2 separate regions of the Homo sapiens genome follow, and region 2 is linked to region 1. Evidence: promoter capture Hi-C in human tissues and cell types (Jung and others, 2019). All regions are on one chromosome and are shown on one strand. Each heading gives the region's core, a stretch centred on a gene start or on the middle of the fragment in contact. The rest is flanking DNA. Distances are from core to core; before and after follow the strand shown. Region 1 holds the start of ZNF793 (zinc finger protein 793). Region 2 holds the start of LOC107985304 (a long non-coding RNA gene).

Region 1 (6,797 bases), core at 2,170-4,669:
TTTTTTTGTAGTTTTAGTAGAGACGGAGTTTCACCATGTTGGCCAGGCTGGTCTTGAACTCCTGACCTCAAGTGGTCCACCTGCCTCGGCCTCCCAAAGTGCTGGGATTACAGGCATCAGCCAACATGCCCAGACTACCCAGCTTATTTTTAAATTTTTTGTAATGATGGAGTTTCGCTATGTTGCGCAGGCTGGTCTCAAGATCCTGGCCTCAAACAACCCTCCTACCCCAGCCTTCCAAAGCACTGAGATTACAGGTGTAAGCCACTGTGCCTGGCCAAACAAGGAATATTTAATGACCTGGAAAAGTATCTGTTATATAAATGAAATTATCTCAATTCAAACTTGGAAATTTTGTTTAAACACAGCCACATCTTGCCTCTCCCCATGGTGCTCCTCCCCCCCAATGAATATCCCATTAAATTAGAGATCAAAAACAGACAATACTAAGATTAGAAGCTAGGGAACCTCTGGCAGAGTAGTGACTGGGAGGGGCATCATGAGGGCACGGTGCTAGAATGTTGTTTTCTGATCTGAGTGCATTACCCAGGGGTATTCCCTTGTGACAATTCATTGAGCTACATATTTATATACATTTTTGCATATATATCACAATAAAAAGTTTATGTAAAATTTCTTTTTAATTATTTGCTCTGAAACCTGGCACTGAGCACAGTATAGGTGGTGAAGGGAATCAACATGGAGAAAAAATTACCCAAACTCCTTACCCTGGCTTATTATTTCACCCATGCTAAGCAGCTATCTGTCTTTGATTCTGTGCAAGTGAAAAACAGGGACTATCTGCTTTTAAAACTAAAATTTGACCTATGTGGGTTCTGAAAGATGTTACCTGCCTTAGCATCCAGCTGCCTTTATTTCTTAAGATGCTACAGGCATTGTGCTTTGTCTGAAGGTTACATAAAGATCAAACGTAATAATTTTTTAAAATTAAAATATTGTTTTGACATTGCACTTTTTCATTAATGGTCAAAATCTTATTTTCTAACTCAGAAATAGAAAGTCAAATACTGCATGTTCTCACTTATAAGATAATAATGTGTACACATGGATATAGAAAGCAGAATAATAGACACAGATGACTCTGAATGGAGGGAGGGTAGGAAGCGGGTAAGGGATGAGAAATTATCAGATTGGTACAATGTACATTATTCAAGTGATAGTTACACTAAAAGCCCAGGCTTCCCCACTGTGAAATATACCCATGTAACAAAACTGCACTTATATCCCCTAAATCTATTTTTTCAAATCTTATTTCCATTTTATTTGCAATCCCATCTCAGCCATTTTAATAACTATTAGTTCAATTTTAATTTCAGTGAGGAACAGTTTCTAAAAGTAGCTTACATTTTGTTTTGTGGCGGTTGTGGCTTTATCTGTCTTGAATTTTTTCTGCCAGGACTTTATAAGGAATTGATTAGTGGAGGTTAAAAATGGCTATGCCTAAAATATATAGGACAAGGCAAAAAGTTTCTCAGAATACAATAAATTCCAAATCTAGTTTCTCTTCCTTTGATAATTTAAGTTGAGCCTAGATAAAAGTATTTTCTAAACACTCTGTTTGCTCTTTCAGCCAAATCTTTTACATTATCATTTTATTTTATTTTGTTTATTTATATTTATTTATTTATCTTGAGACAGAGTCTCATTCTGTCACCCGGGCTGGAGTGCAGTGGTACAATCTCGTTTCACTGCAATCTCCACCTCTTGGGTTCAAACGATTCTCCTGCCTCAGCCTCCAGAGTAGCTGGGACCTCAGGCGCCCGCCACCACGCCCGGCTAATTTTTGTGTTTTTAGTAGAGGCAGGGTTTCACCATGTTGACCAGGCTAGTAATTCCTGACTTCAAATGATCCACCCACCTCAGCCTCCCAAAGTGCTGGGATTACAGGCATGAACCACTGCACACAGCCTACATTATCATTTTAGATACTTACTCAGTAAATTTGTTTTCTAACCACGGGCAAGGTCACATCCATCCCCGCTGTCACAGAGTCAGAATGGATTTCCAGAAACCAGCCTCACTCTTGGGATGCTGGCACAGATGCGTATGTCATTACCTTTGCCAGAAAGAGCCTTAAAGGAAACATTAGGAAAAAATATGCATTAGATCCCTAACAAGAATAGAAGCCACGTCTTTAGTAACATGTTACTTTAGATAAGTTTAGCACGCGATCCTTTCAAATTATTTTCATTATTGTAGAGAACAATAAAAAGGGTGTGGGTTCAAAAAAGAGTTTTCAGATGGGCCTTGGTGGAGAGGAACTGGCTGCTATTCAGCTAGGGAGTGTCACCTGAGTGAAATGTGTTCCCGCTATGCAGGCTTGCAGCCTCAAATCTGTGATTTTCCCATCCCCAATCTCCACATTTCAGGACCCTCAACACCAACCCCTATAAGTCTCCTAATCAGACACGCATAGTGCCCCCAATCACTGGCCTCCAATCTCCAACCCTCAGAGGTTTTCATAGTCACTGATATTCCCCTATGTTCAAATCTGACCAGGAGAGACTACAGGTCAGTAACTACAAAGAACACCGATCCGATCTGATTGCCAGTGAAATTACACAGCCCCCAATCATGAATCCACACTGATTGCCAATGATATCCCAACGACTGAGGATCAATTGTTGATTCTCACAGTCCCACTCCCACCCACAAGTGACAGTCCGAATCACTGAGCCTCATTGAGGCGTACCTTTAAGATAAGCACACTTGACTCTATTCTCCATTCCCTGATCTACAAAAGTCCAATCGTTAATACTCTCCGATCCTCCACCGATGATATGAAGTAAGTCTCAATCACCGATGGCCCAAAACATTTCTCCAAACATTCATCACCACTGACCTCCCTCATTTGAACCCCAAAGTTTCCACAATCACCAATTCCAGTACCCAAACTATTACTGCCCACAGAACTTAGAACCTCCGATCACTGATCCTCTCGGGCTCCGATCATTAACCTTAAAGATCTCTAAACCAGTGTCTGAAAAATCCCAACTGACCCCAGACCCATGAAGACCACTATTACTGACCCCATGCACCCTGAAAATCAAGACATTTCACAGAACTCGCATTTATTGATTCCCACACACTCCCAATCCATCTTCTTCAGAGACCGTGCCACTGACTCCCGCAAACCTCTGTCCGCCACCACTGAGGCCCCGCGAGGCTCAGACGCCGAATCTCTTAACCCTTCAGTTCCCTTGTCATTGACCCTCACGGGCACCCATAGCTGACCCAGTCGGCCACCGTAGTCGGCAGCTCACTATCCTCCACTAGTCCCAGGTTTGACCGTTTCTCAAACCGTGCCTTCCCATTTATGCTGCATCCGCGCCCTGAATCTGAAATTGGTCGTCCTGCCACGCCGCCTCACCGCGGTATAAGGTCGTCCCATCCTGAATGGCCGGTGCGCAGACTCAATTGCGACTTTGAGGCTGTCAGCCGCCACCCGGCAACCTTCCAGTGAACAGGATTCTGGGTTTCTCAAAGCTGTAATTGGAGGTATGATGGCGACGCCCACTTGACTCCTACCTGGGGCGGCCATGTTTAAAACTGTGCCGTAAAACGGATGATTAAGCCCTTTGCTAGACCAAAAGATAAGGCTATTTTAGGACAAGGAGAAGGAAGTGTCCCTGGATCCCTAAACAGAGATGTCGTCTCTGCTCTTAACTCAGCATCTCAGATGCCAAAACCTCCTGTGGCCAACATGGTGGCGCCCAGACATCAAAGCTGAGCTTTCTTTGTCTCCGGCAGCCTGGTAAGATGGCCGCGTACATTTTTACCGCTTCTTACGTGCAATGGGTGCAGCCTCTCCTAGGAGCTCCCCTATGGCAATGTGAAACTCTTTCTGAGCCAGCTCTAGGAGTTAGAGAGCAGCGAAGAGACTCGCTCTTAGGGAGACAGAGACAGCCTAAGGACGGGCGTGACTTCACGGAAAGGGCGGAGCCGCAAGGAAAGGGCGGGGCTGCCGCAGCGGGAAGAGATCAGAGTTCTTAGCGCATAATGGAAAGGAAATGTTGAAAGCAAGGTTTTTACCTAAGGAGGCTTGCCCGAGAAGCCGACCTGAGGAAAGAATGAGTGCAAGCAGTTTATTTGGTAGGTGGGGGATGGAGAAGTGAGACGGGAGCGATGGGAACGAATATACAGTGCATAGGTGAGCAGATTAGCTCTGGATCAATGAGGGCTCAGTCAGCTTGGGACCTCTGGGGGATTGTGTAGAAACCACTTCCAAGTTTTCACAACCACCAGGCCGATGAAGCTTACATATGTCTACACCATCTCTCTTCCTAATTGTTTTAGGGCCACTCCAGAGGTGTTAAAGCTCCAGCACTTCGAGCCTGCCTCGTGGGAAAGTCTTAGGCTGAGTCTGTAGGTGTCTGCAGTTAAGAAGCCAGCGGTCTGCATATGATTGCTCAGGGGTGGTGGCTGGGTCCAACAGCATTCACTACAGGCCTGCCTTGAATACCACCTAGCGCAGTGCTCCGCATATCACAGGTATTGGAACATCTCTAGAAAAGATTGCCTTGTCTTATGAAAATGGCTTTTTAAAAAAATCCTAATTCCAACTGGTCATCCTAGCAACTGATACAATAACTGACCTCAAAATGTTTCCCAATGATTCCTACCTCCTACTATTCACACTCTTATGTAGTTCCCTCCCACATTGTACCAGGGTTGGACTGTGAGACTAATAGAATGCAGTAGCAGTGATAGATGTCACTGCTGAGATTAAATATAATAAATGGCACCTTGAGTTCTGTCTTAAAGGCTGCTGCCCCCACTTTGAGAGAAGTTAGTTGCCATGTCATGAGGATACCGAGACAGCCTATGGAGAGGCCCAGGTAGCAAGGAACTAAGCCCTCCACCCAATAGCCTGGGAGTAGCTGGGGCCTTCCTATAACCAAGTGTATCACCCTTGGAAGCACATCTCCCAGCCCCAGTCAAACCTTGAGATGACAGCAGCCCCTGCCAATAGTTTGACTGCAACTGCGTGAGAGACACAGTCACAAGCACTCAGCTATAGCAGCTCCTATATTCCTCACCCTCAGAAAGTGTGTAAGATACTACATGTTTGTTGTTTTAAGCTTCTGAGTTTAGGGTAATTTGCTATGCATCAGTAGATAACTTCAATGCTGTGTTAAAATGCTACAATTGACATTTCTTCTTTTTTTTTTTTTTTGAGACGGAGTTTCGCTCTTGTTGCCTAGGCTGGAGTGCATTGGTGCAATTTCAGCTCACCGCAACCTCTGCCTCCCGGGTTCAAGCGATTCTCCTGCCTCAGCCTCCTGAGTAGCTGGGATTACAGGCATGCACCACCACGCCAGGCTAATTTTGTATTTTTAGTAGAGACGGGGTTTCTCCATGTTGGTCAGGCTGGTCTCGAACTCCCGACCTCAGGTGATCCGCCTGCCTCGACCTCCCAAAGTGCTGGGACTACAGGTGTGAGCCACCGCGCCCAACCCCATTTCTGAATTCTTTAAATAAAGTTCCTAAAGTTGCGAGATTATTCTGTCAGAGGAGATTATTACCAGTTTCCTCTTCTTCCTTGCGATGGAAAAATTAAAGGCCTATGGCTCTGCTAGATTTTTAAAATTTAACAAAGAGGTCAAGGGTCCTTGCTTCATTTGATTTAATATAAGTGGTTTATATGACAACACTTTGAAGTGATTATAGTAATTAATTTAAAATCACCATTTAGGCTGGGCATGGTAGCTCACACATGTAATTCCAGCACTTTGAGAAGCCAAGGTGGGCAGATCACCTGAGGTCAGGAGTTCAAGACCAACCCGGCCAACATGTTGGAACCCCGTCTCTACTAAAAATACAAAAATTAGCCGGCATGGTGGACGCCTATAATTCCAGCTGCTCGGGAGGCTGAGGTAGGAGAATCACTGAACCCAGGAGGTGGAGGTTTCAGTGGGCCAAGATTGTGCCATTGCACTCCAGCCTGGGTGAGACTCTGTCTCTAAAAAAACAAAAATAATAATATTGAAGTAAAATGAGTATTTATAAAGTGCCTATTAAATGCCTGATTGATCACTGGCCTGCTCACTTCAAGGGCTGTTCTTATTCTAGGATTAGACCAATAAAGCAGCCACAACTGGTAAATTGTCACTCATGAAGGCCGAGGGAAAGACAGCCTTTGAGGGTCTTTTGCTGGGAATTAAACGTTCTGCCTCAAAAACTATACATGTCATTTCCATTCACTAGTCTTTGAGACGTCACATGGCCACCCAGGAGTGTGATAGCAGACATGTAATCCTACCATAATTCTGGGATGGGAAGAGCTGGCGATATTTTGGAATAACATTAAAGACTGCCACAAACATTGTAAAGATAGTGTTATCATCACGCTTCAAAAGAAACTGCAACACGGGGGTGAGGTGACCTGTCCGTAATCATTCAGTGAGTAAATAAAGCAACAAGGATTCAGAGCTGGGTGTTTCTGTGTTATTCAGAAGTAAAGGATCATTAGCATCATTATTAAATTTTACCCAAAATTTATTAGAACCTAAATATATCTCAGCAACTGAATTGGGAAAAAGAAGACTGAGTACTCGAGTAAAAATAGAGGCTACTCAAGGAGCTGACCTCTTGATTGGGGAAGGAGTACACATGGAAAGAGGAAACAGGTAAAAGAAGAGTACACACTGTAGGACTCCAGTCATGAGAAACTCAAGAACAGGCAAAACAGATCTATTGAGTTATAAATCAGAAAGCAGTTGACTCCAGGGGCTATTTTTTTTTTTTTTTTTTTTTTTTCTGAGACAGAGTCTCTA
Region 2 (6,797 bases), core at 2,236-4,735, 1.3 Mb after region 1:
TTTAATTCAAATTTACAAAAAAGTCATTGTACTATCTGTATCATTCTGCAACTTGATCCCCCCTCAACAATTCTGGGATCTTTCTGTTAATACATGTGGATTTCATTTGTTGCATTTTACAGATATATAGTATTACATAAGAATTTCCCATATTGTTCGTGATGGGCTTTCTCAGTTGTTTCTAATTTTTGGCTACTACAAATCAAGCCACAGTAAATATCCTAGTGCGTATTTCCTGAGCATTCATACTCATAAGTAGAACCGCTAAGTATTTCTCAAATTGTTCCAAGGAATGTTTCCCTATTCCCAAGGTCATATGCATTTTAGTACATAGCTTTTCCATATTTCTGTTTTTAATCTCTGGATTCACTTTTGTGTATAGTTCATGGTCTATTTTTCCCCCTTGGAGAACAAACTACCTCCACTTAAAAAAAATAGTTCCATTATTTCCTCATTTCCTGATGCCACTTGTATCATATTCCAAATTCTAATAAATGCATAGGTCTTTTTTTGAAATCTCTTCTGCTCTGCTCAATCAATACCACAGGAGTCTTAATATTAGTTGTAGATGACCATGTCATCTATTTTTGTCTGTTCCTTTCCAATATTTACAACTTAATTTTTCTTGTTACTGGCGAAGATCTCCAGATCTATGGTGGTAGCAATAAAAAACAGGCCTCCATTTTCTGTTCCCACTTTTAGTGAAAATGTGCCTAAACTTTCACCATTATCTCTGCTGCAGGTTTCTCTGTTGGACACAGGGTTTTAATCATATGCATGTCTTTCTCTTCAGTACAAATTTTCTGGTGTCCCTTAAGTTTTTAGTACTTGTTAAAGTTAACCTCATTCGTGGTGCTTTGCTTCAGAAGGATTATTTCTGGGGCATGATGAGGTGCAAATTTCTAATGAAAGCTTTCCCACTTTCAAGGCTTTCATGGGGTTTTTAGTGAGTATGAATTTTCTGGTGTCTAATGTGGTGTGACTTCTGGCTGAAAGCTTTCCCACATTCACTGCACTGATAAGGCTTCTTACCTGTGTGTATTCTCAAATGCAGAGCAAGGGTTGAGAACTGAGAGAAAGCTTTCCCACATTCATTACAACCATAGGGCTTCTCCCCTGTATGGCTTCTCACATGCACAGTGAGAGATGAGCTCTGAGAGAAGGCTTTTCCACAAACATTGCATTCGTAAGGTTTATCACCTGAATGAATCCTCACATGTACAATAAGTGATGTTCGCTGAGAGAAGGCTTTTCCACATTCGTTACATTCATAGGGTTTCTCTCCAGTGTGAATGTTCTGATGTTTTATGAGGTACTTCTTCTGGCCAAAGGCTGTTCCACATTCACTACATTTAAAAGGCTTCTCTCCAATATGGATTTTCTCATGCTCAGTAAGGTTGGATTTGCCACTGAAGGTTTTTCCACACTCCTTACATACAAAGGGCTTCTCTCCTGTGTGAGTTCTCTGGTGTCTGATGAGGTTTGACTTCTGAATGAAAGCTTTCCCGCAATCTTTACACTCAAAAGGTTTTTCTCCAGTGTGAATTTTCTGGTGCGTAAGGAGGTTTTCCTTCTGGCTAAATGATTTTCCACATTCATTACATTCGAAAAGCTTCTCGCCAGTATGGGTGTTCTGATGTTTAATGACATACTGCTTTTGGCTAAAGGCTTTTCCACACTCGTTACATTCAAAAGGTTTCTCTCTCGTGTGAAAATGCTCATGCTCAGTGAGGTTTGATTTGTGGCTGAAGACTTTTCCACATACCTTACAGGCAAAGGGGTTTTCCCCACTGTAAATTCTCTGCTGGCTGAGGTGTGACATCTGAATGGAAGCTTTCCCACATTCACAAGGTTTCTCTCCAGTAAAAATTTCTTGATGAGTGAGGATTTACTTTTGGCTGAAGATATTTCCACATCTCTTACATTTATAAGGCTTCTCTGTGTATGATCTCCCAAATGCAGAGTAAGGGATAAGGTTTGAGAGGAAATGTTATCATACTCAGTATATTCAATGCTTTCTCTCTAGAAAAATTTTCTAATATTCAATGAAGTATTGCTACCTTCACTAGTTTCTCTCCAGCATGAATTTTCTGCTTCTCAATGAGATTGTCATCTAGCTAAGGGCTTGTCAATACTCCTTAGAAGCACAGGGTTTCTCTTCAGCATGACTTGCACGTTCGACGAAATGCAACATATGAGTAACAGTTCCCCCACATTCAGTAAATTCATAGGGTTTCTCTCCAGTATGAACACTCTGGTAACAGATGAGGTACAAACGTTTTAAACCAAAGACATTTACACTTAAAGGGGGTTAATACCATAAGGAGTAAGCTGTGGTAGAGAAGCTCCCAACTAAGTCCCTTGATGATTCTTTCCTACACAACCTCCCTCATGATTTCAGTCCAGGTTGTGTTTCAAACTGAAAACTTCAAAAAGGTGTGGCCTTAAAACAAATACGATCTGAGAACAGAGGAAGTATTTTTTCTTATATTCAACGCTCTTTTTCTCAGTCTTTCCTGGAGATGGATCAACATGCCTCCCAAGTCCTGGTGCCTCTCAAGTCCTGGTGCCTCTCTATCTGTGCATCATCTTCTCAGGCTTCTTCTAAAATGGAGTACAAAGAACCATAGCACAAAGGAGTTAAATTCATAAAGTGCCCAGAACCATGGCTGCCATATGGTAAGCCCTTCATTTTACCTTTATATTACTATCACTTTTATTTGTTAATTTTCCCATTACTAGCAATAAAATTTTTTGAGATTAACTCTGGTAGCCCATCTCCCAATATGAAAATAATCTATATTATTAATGCTTCCAACTAAATTATGAGAAGGGAACCCTACTTGAGGTGATCTAGGTAGAAAATTAACATTCATGGGTCCACAAAGCTGAAAGTACTCTTGAAAAATAACCTTTCCATTTCAGAATTTAGCAAGTTGTATAACAAATAATGAAGAATTGCCAAATAGAAGAAAAAGATGAAAATTAGAAAGTCTACCTGGGATGCTAAGGAAGAAAAATAATGTTCATCTTTCTTTCTTCTTTTTTTTTTTTTGAGACGGAATTTCGCTCGTTATCCAGGCTGGAGTGCAGTGGTGCGATCTCGGCTCACTGCAGCCTCCGCCTCCTGGGTTCAAGCAATTCTCTAGCCTCAGCCTCCTGAGTAACTGGGATTACAGGTGTGCACCACCATACCTGGCTAAATAATGCTCATCTTTCTAAGAAAAGGAATAGATCAACCAACAAGTGCTTCCTCCCAAAACCCCATTAAAATTATAAGGAGAAAATGGTACAAATTCCCTTATTCAAAAGGAATAAAGGATGGTGGCTGAAAAAAAAGTGTAAGGAACAGTTGAACATGCACTGTCCAGTCACGAGAACAAAGGACTGGACACACCTTCATATGAAATGGAAGTTTATCCCCTGCAGAATTTTAATCAGAGCTCAGGGGCATTCAGCAAATGAGATGACAGGAATGAGCTGCTATACGGAAATCAGAGATTAAACCCACATATATGGTAAGACCTGCAGCACCATTCTGCAGCTGAAGACAAAAGATGCTGGCTGGCCGGGCGCAGTGGCTCACGCCTGTAATCCCAGCACGTTGGGAGGCCGAGGTGGGCGGATCACGAGGTCAGGAGATCAAGACCATCCTGGCTAACACAGTGAAACCCCATCTCTACTAAAAATACAAAAAATTAGCCGGGCGTGGTGGCGAGCAACCAGATGCAAAGCTTGAACCCTGATTACATTCTGTAATTTTAAAAAACTATGGAAGGCATTCTGGGGACAATTGGAAAAATGTGAACATAGACTGGGTAGTCTAATATTAGGACAACATGGTTAATCTTCTAAGGTGTGAAACGGTATTTTGTTATATGGGAGAGCTCCCTTTTTTTTTGAGACAGTCTTGCTCTGTCGCCCAGGCTGTGTGGGGAAAAGAAAGAGAGATCAGACTGTTACTGTGTCTGTGTAGAAAGAAGTAGACATAAGAGACTCCATTTTGTTCTGTACTAAGAAAAATTATTCTGCCTTGAGATGCTGTTAATCTGTAACCCTACCCCCAACCCTGTGCTCACTGAAACATGTGCTGTGTCAACTCAGCGTTAAATGGATTAAGGGCTGTGCAGGATGTGCTTTGTTAAACAAATGCTTGAAGGCAGCATGCTCCTTAAGAGTCATCACCACTCCCTAATCTCAAGTACCCAGAGACACAACACACTACAGAAGGCCGCAGGGACCTCTGCCTAGGAAAGCCAGGTATTGTCCAAGGTTTCTCCCCATGTGATAGTCTGAAATATGGCCCCGCGGGAAGGGAAAGACCTGACCGTCCCCCAGTCCGACACCCGTAAAGGGTCTGTGCTGAGGAGGATTAGTAAAAAAGGAAGACCTCTTTGCAGTTGAGATAAGAGGAAGGCATCTGTCTCCTGCTCTTCCCTGGGCAATGGAATGTCTCCGTGTAAAGCTGGATTGTATATTCCATCTACTGAGATAGGGGAAAACCGCCTTAGGGCTGGAGGTGGGACATGCTGGCAGCAACACTGCTCTTTAAGGCATTGAGATGTTTATGTATATGCACATCAAAAGCACAGCACTTTTTTCTTTACCTTGTTTATGATGCAGAGACATTTGTTCACGTTTTCCTGCTGACCTTCTCTCCACTATTACCCTATTGTCCTGCCACATCCCCCTCTCCGAGAAACGCCCGATAATGATCAATAAATACTAAGGGAACTCAAGAGGCCGGTCCTCTTGAGAGGTCCTCCGTATGCAGGTCCTCCCTAACGCCGGTCCCCTGGGCCCATTTTTCTTTCTCTATACTTTGTTTCTGTGTCTCTTTCTTTTCCAAGTCAGTCCTTCCACCTGACGAGAAACGCCCACAGCTGTGGAGGGGAAACCCACCCCTTCAGGCTGGTGTGCAGTGGTGCGATCTCGACTCACTGCAACCTCGGCCTCCTGGCTTCAAGTGATTCTTGAAGCCTCAACCTCCCAAGTAGCTGGGATTACAGGCATGCATCACCACGCCTAATTTTTGTATTTTTAGTAGAGACAGGATTTCACTATGTTGGCCAGGCTGGTCTGGAACTCCTGACATCTGGTGATCTGCCCGTATCTGCCTCCCAAGTGCTGGCACTACAGGCGTGAGCCACCACGCCTGGCCAGGAGCTGCTTTTCTTGGTAGAAAATACATATTTAATTTTTTAGAAGTAAAACATCATGATGCCTCAGCACACAAAATAAACACATGGATACGGACATACAAAAGCGTGGCAAAATATTAATTATTCAATCCACATGGGGGGTACATAAGAGATTCTTTAACTATTCCTTCAGCATTTGTTATATTTAAAAAATGTTCATATGAAAAAATAATTGAATGGCTGGGCATGGTGACTCACACCTGTAATCCCAGCACTGTGGGGCCAAGAGTTTAAGACAAGCCTGGCCAACATGGTGAAACCTCGTCTCTACTAAAAATACAAAAAATTAGCTGGATGTGGTGGCATGCTCCTATAATCCCAGCTACTCAAGAGGCTGAGACAGGAGAATCACTTGAAACCGGGAGGTGGAGGTTGTAGTGAGCCCAGATCGCACCACTGCACTCCAGCCTGGGTGACAGAGGGAGACTATGTCTCGGGAAAAAAAAAAAAAAGAAAAAAGAAAAAAGAACTGATCAGTATTTCCACACAAAAAATTCATAGATTATTTAACAGCAACTCATGCGTTCTCAAACTACTGATCAGAAAAATAAAACATGGACCTTCCTTTTAACCGGATTATAATGCAGACTATAGACGGCAAAATCTAAAACCATGTTTAAGGTATCATTTGCTGAGAACTTGTAAGTTCCTCTGGAAAATATGAAGTAATGGACAAGCAGAGGGAAGAGGAAAAAAGGCAGAAGTAACAAACATTTTAATGAAAACTGAATTCAAGTTTATATAAGTAGTACCTACATAAGTAGAATATTTCATAATCAAAGGCCAAGATTCAAAAATTTTATAAAGAGAAAGAAATATGTTCATATTTGTAGTCACATAATTTGTATGTTTTTTTTTTTTTTTTTTGAGATGGAGTCTCGCTCTGTTGCCCAGGCCGGAGTGCAGTCTCAGCTCACTGCAACCTCCGCCTCCCAGGTTCAACCGATTCTCCTGCCTCAGCCTCCCGAGTAGCTGGGACGATAGGTGTGCATCACCACGCCCAGCTAGTTTTTGTATTTTTAATAGAAACGGGGTTTTACCATGTTGGCCAGGCCAGTCTCAAACTCTTGACCTCAGGTGATCTGCCTGCCTCGGCCTCCCAAAGTGTTGGGATTACAGGGGTGAACCACCGAGTCTGGCCTTTTTTTTTTTAAATAAAAAAGATACGGGGTCTCAACACGCTGCCCAGGCTGGTCTAGAACTCCTAGGCTCAAGAGATCTGCCGCCTCGCCTACAGATGTGAGCCACCGTGCCTGGCCCTTTGTTCTCTATTAAAGAGAGCTTAGTGTGTCTTTTTAAGGCTTGACTGATCCTATTACAAAGACCATGGGAAAAGAAATAATCCAGAAATAACATGAAACTGGTCTGAGGTAATCTCTGGATCTGAAAATAATAGGATGAAAATTTTAATTTGGGTAGCATTCTGACACAATGAGAATGAAATTAGACAGCTGTCTGTCCCATAAACAGGTAAAGTTGTGTAAGGCAAGACAGAAACTCTGGAGATGCCAAAATAAGAATTGATATTATAGTTAATTATAACTTAAGAATGAGTCCAGGTGTAGTGGCTCCCGCCTGTAATCCTAGCACTTTGAG

Evidence for each region. The method cuts DNA at HindIII sites, captures the fragments that hold promoters and counts their contacts. A contact is called where the count stands out against the background at its distance.
Region 2: a contact is called between a fragment that was not itself captured here and the fragment with the promoter of ZNF793 in region 1, in 1 of the 25 tissues and cell types used here (lymphoblastoid cells).

The regions. Positions count from the first base shown.
Region 1 is chr19:37,503,561-37,510,357 of GRCh38, reverse strand. ZNF793 (zinc finger protein 793) reads right to left here and starts at 3,419. Exons shown (of 8, transcript NM_001013659.3): 1 at 3,392-3,419; 2 at 1,955-2,093. It overlaps ZNF793-AS1 (ZNF793 antisense RNA 1), which reads left to right and starts at 3,271. Exons shown (of 3, transcript NR_110723.1): 1 at 3,271-3,519; 2 at 4,318-4,512. RefSeq lists enhancers at 3,203-3,352, 2,918-3,709, 3,710-4,501. The HindIII fragment of the contact is 9,018 bases long and covers 1-4,689 here.
Region 2 is chr19:36,231,466-36,238,262 of GRCh38, reverse strand. It overlaps ZNF146 (zinc finger protein 146), which reads right to left. Exons shown (of 4, transcript NM_007145.3): 4 at 1-2,604. The coding sequence starts at 1,822. The coding sequence ends at 944. It overlaps LOC107985304 (a long non-coding RNA gene), which reads left to right and starts at 2,511. Exons shown (of 2, transcript XR_001753933.3): 1 at 2,511-2,679. It also overlaps a transcript of ZNF565 not described here. RefSeq lists a silencer at 1,689-1,889 and enhancers at 3,687-4,188, 4,189-4,691. The HindIII fragment of the contact is 4,389 bases long and covers 1,291-5,679 here.